2 separate regions of the Homo sapiens genome follow, and region 1 is linked to region 2. Evidence: promoter capture Hi-C in human tissues and cell types (Jung and others, 2019). All regions are on one chromosome and are shown on one strand. The core of a region is centred on a gene start or on the middle of the fragment in contact, and the rest is flanking DNA. Distances in the headings are between cores, read along the strand shown. Region 1 overlaps PKP4 (plakophilin 4). Region 2 holds the start of ACVR1C (activin A receptor type 1C).

Evidence for each region. The method cuts DNA at HindIII sites, captures the fragments that hold promoters and counts their contacts. A contact is called where the count stands out against the background at its distance.
Region 1: a contact is called between a fragment that was not itself captured here and the fragment with the promoter of ACVR1C in region 2, in 1 of the 25 tissues and cell types used here (hippocampus).

The regions. Positions count from the first base shown.
Region 1 is chr2:158,462,769-158,466,988 of GRCh38, forward strand. All of the region lies in intron 1 of PKP4 (plakophilin 4), which reads left to right. Among named protein-coding and RNA genes, the nearest start is that of PKP4, 7.9 kb to the left of the region's middle. The HindIII fragment of the contact is 6,532 bases long and covers 1-4,220 here.
Region 2 is chr2:157,626,910-157,631,277 of GRCh38, forward strand. ACVR1C (activin A receptor type 1C) reads right to left here and starts at 1,955. Exons shown (of 9, transcript NM_145259.3): 1 at 1,663-1,955. The coding sequence starts at 1,735. RefSeq lists a silencer at 1,670-1,899. The HindIII fragment of the contact is 14,203 bases long and covers 1-3,245 here.

The DNA.
Region 1 (4,220 bases), core at 950-3,449, 840 kb after region 2:
CTGGCAGATTGTATAATCTCTGTGGTCCTCGTTTTGCTCATCTGTAGGATGGAGTGATAAAAGTACCCACTTCATATGGTTGTTGGGGAGATTAAATGAATTAATACATGTAAAGTGCTTACAACAGGAGCTGGTTCAGAGCCAGCGCTTAATACATTGAAATAATTATTTTTACATTGTGGTGCTTTTATGATGGTTTCTGCAGCATTTACCAAATGCCAGGGAAATTATTGGCTTGCTTTCTGTGTGGGTTTTGTCAAAATGATTATGGATTTCAACAGGATATTTCAGAGAAGAAATAAACTGCTGAACAGAAACCATTGTGAGCTTGATAGTTTGCAGGACATTGTAGAAAAGAGAATCCAGCACAGTAATTAAGGGCCTTTTTAAGTAGGGAAGTTGTAGCTTCTTGCGGTAGGCAATACTTAGAGAGGCATTAACCACCGCTAGCCAACAAGTATAGGAGAATGTATACAATTATTGCGTTTGTAATCCCAGGTAGTAGTCATTTTATAAAATGTCTTTGCTAGTCAGTACATGAATAAAGCGTTAGAAAGTGTTCATCATTTAACACCATTTGCCCAAATGCAGCTTGTAAATTAACTCTTTAAGCTGGCTTTTCTGTCTGAAAGTGATCACAGTTGAAAAAAAAAAAAAAAAGGATATTTGAAATCAGCAGGAGACTCCCAAATCAAGAAAGGCTAGAAAAGAGGAAGGGGGTTTGGAATATACATGATATAAATCAACAGACAGTGGTTAAATAGATATCAAGAGGCTCTAGTTCTAGTCCTGGCTTTGCCACTATGCAGGTGTGTGTCCCATGAGCACATCATGTAACTCTCGTGGGCTTTAGTTTTCTTGTCTATAAAATGAGGGAGTTGGTCTAGATGCTCTCTAGAGTCCCTCTAGTACTTACATTTCGCAACTCTTAGAACATCAAGCCATTACATTTTTTCCTCAGCAAGAATATGCTGTCTTCCCAAGGATTTATGACAATTTACCCTCTGGGATAAGGAGGGAAAATTGAAGTTGTATACTTGAAATTCTCAGCTCCTGAAAATATGTGTCGCAGCCAGACAAACCTGTGACCCCTCTGTGGCTGAGTCAGTGGCTCCGTGTCTTGTGCGGTAGTGGTGAAGTGCTCCAGGAGTGAGGATCCCTGGGGCCCCTCGGGGCAGGAGCTGAGCAGTGAGCCTTTATGGAGCTGCACATCTGCAGTTTGTCACAGCCCTGACTTCTGGGACTTACTTGTCTACAACCAGTCCCCTGTGCACATTGGAGGCTTCACCTCTGATTGAGACTACATTTTTCAGAAGTTGGATAGAAACAAGAAAGGGGATTTAGCATGGTGGTTAGAAGGGACTAGTCTTGTTACAGTGAGAAAGATCCACTTCTTACTTGCTCAGATGGTTTGATTTGTCCTCAGAGAAGTTAAACAACTGACAGAGTTGCTCCTCTGAAAACATTTTGTATGAATACTTTAGGTTCATAGGGAACTCGTCAATCCATATCTCATAGAATAGAGGGACTTTTCATTCAAGTCTAATTTTTACATATAGACAATCTACCAGTGTTCAGAAATTGTGGCAGATTTCATGAGGAGAATTTTTTACTTGGATTTGTGCTCTTCTATAAAAAGTAATTTAAAAATTCAGTGATGAAAGTTTCTCCTAGACCCTGTTCTCTTCCTTTGTGGAGAAAAAAAATCCGTATAGAACTCTAGTATGTATTTATCTATAAAACAATTGTTTAAAAATATTGAGGTTAGCTCTTCCCCTTTGCTAATGCAATAAGCACATTATTTGCAAAGGGAAGCATTAATTATACTACTATTGTATGCAGTATTAAATGAATTGTCAATGTCACGATCAAAATAAACCCTTGAAGAACTGGCTGTTGTTCCCATACCTTCATGAGAATTGTAAACACTCATGTAAAATAGAAACCATTATTTACCACTTTGCAGTGAAATGGATCATGTGTTCTGACACCTGTACCCTGAGTTGAGTGGGAAACAGGGACTGTTTGATGAATTAAAGGTAACTTTATTCCTGTATACCACTAGGGGTGCAAGTGAGGGGACTGTAGACAATTAGTACTTTAGATATTTGTTGGAGTCCTGCTGTGTGTGCAGTATTGTGTTTCATTTTGCATACTTATTTAAAACGATACTACTTATTTGAAATGATTCATTTTAGTTCATTTTAACCAACATTTTTTAGTCCCCTACTCCATATCAGACTGATAGGCCTTATGGCCAAAAAGATGACTTCCTCCAGGGATACTTACTGTCTGTGTTAGATTCAGTAATGGGAGTCTCGGTCTTTAAGGAATCCATGATACATTTTTCAGTCTGGTTGGGAAAGATAAGACACATGAGGTAGAGAAGATTGTCCTAGAAATGTTGGTATATAAATAAGCATGTAACATTGTTTCATAAGTATTAAGGATGAGCTATAAAATAACTAGGTTGTAGCTCATACTTCTACTTGCTTAATTGTGTATTACATGATAAATTACCCGATTCTAGAGATATGCACTAACCACTCTCATTAGCTTTCTTTGGGAAAAGTCTGCACCAAAGATAAATAGTGATTTCAAAATAAGTTTTAATCATGAACTTGATTATTTTGGCTGTATCTCTTGAAACACTTTACCATATAGCCTATGTGAAATAATTAATCATAATGACAATACATGATTTATGAGAAACCATAATTTATGCTGTAAGACCTGCCATTTTATTACATTCTTATTTTTATTTTTCATGCAGCAGTATTTTCGTTTATTGTGTTTTGTGCTTTTCTTTTATTCTCTATGTAATTTGTGTGCCTTTATAAGCCCAAACTTGCTGTTGAAAATATTCCCTCCCATTGTTATGAATAAACAGAATGTTTCAAAATCTCTCGTGATGTATGCTAGAATAAATGGTCTCATTGAATCTTACTTTGAATCTCAGAATGATGCACTGATGGGAATTTTTCACTTACTGTCATTTTGTCGACAACTACATAAGCAGTAAGTCTGTTTAAAAAAGGCACTGACTAAGGAATCACAAAATCCAACTGGACTTCACAAGAACTATTAATACTATTAGTCTGAGACCTGTGATAAACAACTCAGATGTTAAAGGTCTAATTCAGACTGTCAACAGATGAAAAATAAGTGTCAGTCTGAAATCTTCGGATAGTATATCGGCAAGTGTCAGTCTTCCAAAATATTATTTAGAACTGTGAATATAATTTTTCACAGAAGCAACATTAATCCATAAATCTCCCGTCCTGTAGTGTAACTATAGTATATCAGTTCCATGGGAAAATAGTCCTGCTCTAAGCTACTCAACAGCAGGGACTTTATCTTTCTACAGGACTTAAATCTTGACCTCCAGTGGTTCTACATACCTTAAGTGAATGAATGAGTTTGAATTCTAGTTTTGAACACCTTCACCTGCTACTCTTGGATAATCGTGTCTGTTTGTGCCTAGTACCTATCCTCTGTCCTTTTGTAAACTGGTCTGAGACCCTGATACCATTTATCCTGCATGTTTCAAAGGAAAAAACTATTTAGACTTTAAAAAAATGCTTTTCTAATACAACTTGCTAGATAAATAATTCATTATACCAAATTCCTTAGTAAAGAAATTAACGGCTGGGTGCAGTGGCTCACACCTGTAATCCCAGCACTTTGGGAGGCTGAGGCAGGTGGATCACTTGAGATTAGGAGTTCAAGACCAGCCTGGACAACATGGTGAAACCCCATCTCTACTAAAAATACAAAAAAAAAAAAATTAGCCAGGCGTGGTGGCGGGCGCCTGTAGTCCCAGCTACTTGGGAGGCTGAGGTGAGAGAATCACGTGAACCCGTGAGGCAGAGGTTGCAGTGGGCAGAGATTGCACCACTGCACTCCAGCCTGGGTGACAGAGCGAAACTCCATTTCAAAAAGAAATTAATTAGAAGATTTTAAACAGATTGGTTCATATTCATTTTAAACTTAATTGCCTGGATTATAACCATAGTGAGATGAGTTTTCATAATGCTCTTTATCATACTACTAATAGGCACCAATCAAGCACCAAGACTAAGCTAAGCTTTGAAAGTGTGATATTGAGCAAACTTTCTGTATCTGTACCTTTTGTGAATCAGTAATATCTTTGTATACTCAGTTGAAGAGTTAAGACAGAAGTAGATATAATTTAAAGCACATGAAGTTTTTCAAAGGGG
Region 2 (4,368 bases), core at 705-3,204:
TTTTAAGTGAGCGACTTTGAATGGATTATCTTTTTTTTATTTTTTGCATATTTCAATGTCAAAAGTTTCCATGCCTTTTCAAGAACATGAGGCATGTTGCTATGCTCAAGGTCTCTGAAATTTTCTAAAGATTCTGGGTATACAACAAAATATACCCTTGAAGCTACATTTTAAAAAAATTGAATCTGTTTTGTAGAAATGTGTGCAGCCAAGTTATCAGCTCCTCCAAATAAAAAGAGTTGTACAGACAGCCTCCAGAGGCAGTTTCACCCCATCAAAACTGTGATACCTTGAAGACTTTTTTTTGTAAACTCTATTAAATTGTCAAGAGCACTTTCAGTATCCCAAGTTAGCAGAGTTTTCACCCATTTTTTAAAGACTTTCCCATAGTTGGTTTTCTCCCACTTATAAATTTATTAACTCTAAATGCAAATATTTCACTTTATCCCATCATCTTTCCGACAGTCTTGGGCTGTTTTCCTAAAAGATAACTGGAATGTTTTAATCCTCAGATTTTGTCAATTAATCCTTTTCAATAATCAAATTTATATTTGAATATTGTATTTAGTGATTCTCTCAGGCCATCTGAAACACTGAAATCTGTACATGACAGCAATCATATCATTCAAATCATTCTCTTGCACATGTCACTAAGAGGAAAACGACCCACCATGAATATAGCTATTAATGTCAAACAGATTGTCATCTGGGAAAACAAAATGCATCAAAATCAGCTTCGGACAAAACACAGCTCTATGGGAAAACACCAGATTTTTATGTGCAAATGTCTTCAATGTCTGATAGAAATTTTTAAAGAATGAGTTAGCAAAGAATCTGCTCCTCCTCTGCATAATCCAGGACAATGTAATGAAAATAGTTTTCGAGGTAAAGGGCTTTTAGTCACAGCATATTATGATTTTACCAAAGATGCATTTGCCCCACTTTCTAGTAAACATTATAAAGAAACGTCTGGCTTCTAGATTGGGTAGAGGGCTCTATTTAGCCTATCAAGGCACAGACCTGTTATAAACTCTGGGGCGCTTGCCAGAATTTTTTTCCCCAGGAACTCTGAGTAAAGATCGTACCTCGAAAGCAATGTGCGTTGCAAACCACACAGATTTAAGCTCCCACTCTCGCCTCCATAGCTTGGCATCTGCGGCTTTTGGGGTATTCCCCGCCTCCTAAAACTCAGACTAAATCACCACCTCCCACCACCACCATGCCACCATCCTTGAGCAGCTCTCAGGGGCTTAGCACAGAGCGCGTCCGACGCATACCTGCAGCCCTCCAGGTCCCTGCAGGGTGAACCCAGCTCCCAGCCATGCGCGCACCCACAAACGCTCTCCTATTTTCTCCGCTGCAAACTGCCCACAAATTAGTCACCCACCTCACCCCTACTACTTATTCCCCCACGTCCCTGCTGCCTTTTCCCTCTTCCGGGCGGCTTCGTCCCCAACACACCTGTCTACCCCTACGGCTGCCAGACGTCAGGTGCCCACGCTGCACCCTATCCCGCGCCCCCTCAATCCGACTGGCGCTTCCCTGTCCGCCCCGAAGGTCAGTTTGCTCGGAGCACCCCCTGTCCCCCACCCCCGTGCTCACCCGCAGACCTCCTCCCAGCTCCCACCCTCGCGGGCGTCGGGAGAGAAACCAGCACCGTACCTGGCGAGAGCTCGGCGGCCGCTGCGAGCAGCAGGAGAGCCTGGCGGAGCGCTGAGCAGAGCGCCCGGGTCATCGCCACCAGGCGGCCGCGCCGGGGCTGCGAGGCCCCAGAGCAGAGCGAGGCAGCCGGGGCAGCACGGCCCGCTTTGAAGTTCCCGGGCCGCGGGAGGGGAGCGCGGCACCGACACCCTTTTGAAGTGCGCGGTTGGCTCTAGTCAGTGTGGGCGCCCCCCTCCCCGGCCGCCCCCATCCCACGCCCCCTGCGGCTGGCGGTGCGCGGCGCTCCTGCCACTGGCCCCGCAGCCGGGCGGGGAGCGGGTGGTGGGGCGGGCGGCAGAGCCCGCCCCTGCCGCGCCTCCGCCCCCTGCGCCCTCTCGCAGCCGCCCGGGCCTGCTGCTGCAGGGCAGGCAGGCAAAGGCGGCCCTGTGCCCGGCAGTGAGATCGCCCAGAGCTGGGGCGAAGAAAGAGGGGGCGTGGGGAAGCAGTGCGGAGCCTCCGGGACTAGATACTCAGGAATGGGGCTTCTCACGGGAGGAAAAGCCCCACTGAGACTTTAGGGAAACTTCAACTACGCGGCGATTGCGCCCAGGTGATCCGCTCTATAACCTCCCGCAGAAGAGCCAGCCTCCTAGCTCTCCTGACGTTTGTTGTCCAGGGTCCTTAAGTCCAACCAGGTTGCGCTGTGAGAGCCCCGCGGGCTTCCTACTGGCTTGTCCCACCCCTGCGTCCTGGCCATTTGTGCCTCTGGGGAAGGGCGCCCTCTCTGTTCATCCCTGGAAATGACCAGTTGTCCGACTGCCTTCTGGACCTATAAGCTTTGGTTTAACAAACTTCATCTCTTCTTGGGTGCCTTTTGGGAACCCTTCCCTCTATGAATGGCGACCAAAGCTGGACCACCTGCGCCAGGTGATGTGGCCATCTACAATGTGTGACCCACGTCTGGTGGTAAAAGACCTCACCTATGGAAGATAATTTCGGCAGCTACAACTTCAGCAATTGAAGAACTAAGGGAACATACACACACACACACACACACACACACACACACACACACACACACGGATTAAGGGAAGGGGAAGAATTGTTTAAAGTAGTATATGAAAAACTTGTTTGAGTATTGTTTAATCCCTAGAGGCTAACTGTCAAACGGGTGCCTGAAAATATAAGGCCTGGATTGTGCCTGAAAATATAAGGACAACGGCAACATTACCAATTTATAGAAATTAAATTCAATTCACCTATGGAGCCTGAACATTAAAGTGAATGGGATTATTTCAATCTGAACAACGCGAAAAAGCAAGAATACAATACTGGTGTTATTACTACTGTTGGGGGTTCCTTGAAAAGTGATAGCGTCATAAAAATTGCTTTAGAGTAAAACATTTCTTGCTTCTTCACCTAGCTCAGGACTAAATTATATGCTAGGTGTTCTAAGTTCTATGAAAGACCTATGGTGAAATGTTGTATGTAATTGACTTTATTATCAAAGGATCACAGTATGGGAGATGAGATGGTTGTTGGACTTTGAGATGTGGGTGGCATCCTGAGGATCTTTTCTGCCACCATCTTATATTCCTAAGCACAAAAAAACTTTGTTCTTGTTTTATCCTGGATCCAAACAAACAAAAAACTGGAGATGTGGGACAAATCTGAGCCCTTTCAGACACCCACAAAACAGATGCTTTTTTAAAAAGGCAAGAAACTGCTAGGACACATTATATTTTGTCTGGTTTGGCTTGCTAATTATTTGATAACTGCACCTTAAATTGTGATCTGCCAATAGATCATGATACCGGGAGCCTAAATAGCAGAATGTAATGAACTTTCTGGGTCTGCTTCCTCAAAAGTAAATGGAACTTAATTCCTCCCTATTTCCCAGAACTTTGACCAGGATCAAAAAGGGTAGTGTATGAGAGAGCATTGTTAAACCATACACATTACAACAATGGCAGGGATTTACTCCCCACATACTTATTTTGTCTCTAAAGCAACATCCTCTGCAAGTTGTAAAGCTCTCATTTGCAAAAAAAAAAAAAAAAAAAAAAAAAAGGCCGGTCGCGGTGGCTCACGCCTGTAATCCCAGCACCTTGGGAGGCCGAGACGGGCGGATCACGAGGTCAGGAGATCGAGACCATCCTGGCTAATATGGTGAAACACCGTCTCTACTAAAAATACAAAAAATTAGCCAGGTGTGGTGGCGGGTGCCTGTAGTCCCAGCTACTCGGGAGGCTGAGGCAGGAGAATGACGTGAACCCAGGAGGCAGAGCTTGCAGTGAGCCGAAATGGCGCCACTGCACTCCAGCCTGGGCGACAGAGCAAGACTCCGTCTCCAAAAAAAAAAAAAAAAAAAGCTTATTATTCCAAGAAGTCAAATATTGAATAACTCCAATATTCTACACAAACTCAATGCTTTCCTCTTAGTCTAATGGTGCGTTATCAACACGGTAGCCACTAGCCACATGTGAATATTGAGCCCCTGAAATGTGCCTAGACTGAATCGACATATGATGTAAATAAAAAATACATGCTAGATCCAAAGATTTAGTACAACAATAAGAATGTAAAAAATACATTACTAATAATTTTATCTTGCTTAAATGTTGCAATGATAGTATTTTGGACATAGAGTTGAATAAAATATATTATTAAATCAATATTACCTATTTCTGTTTACTTTTTAGTGTGACTACCAGAAAATTTTAAATT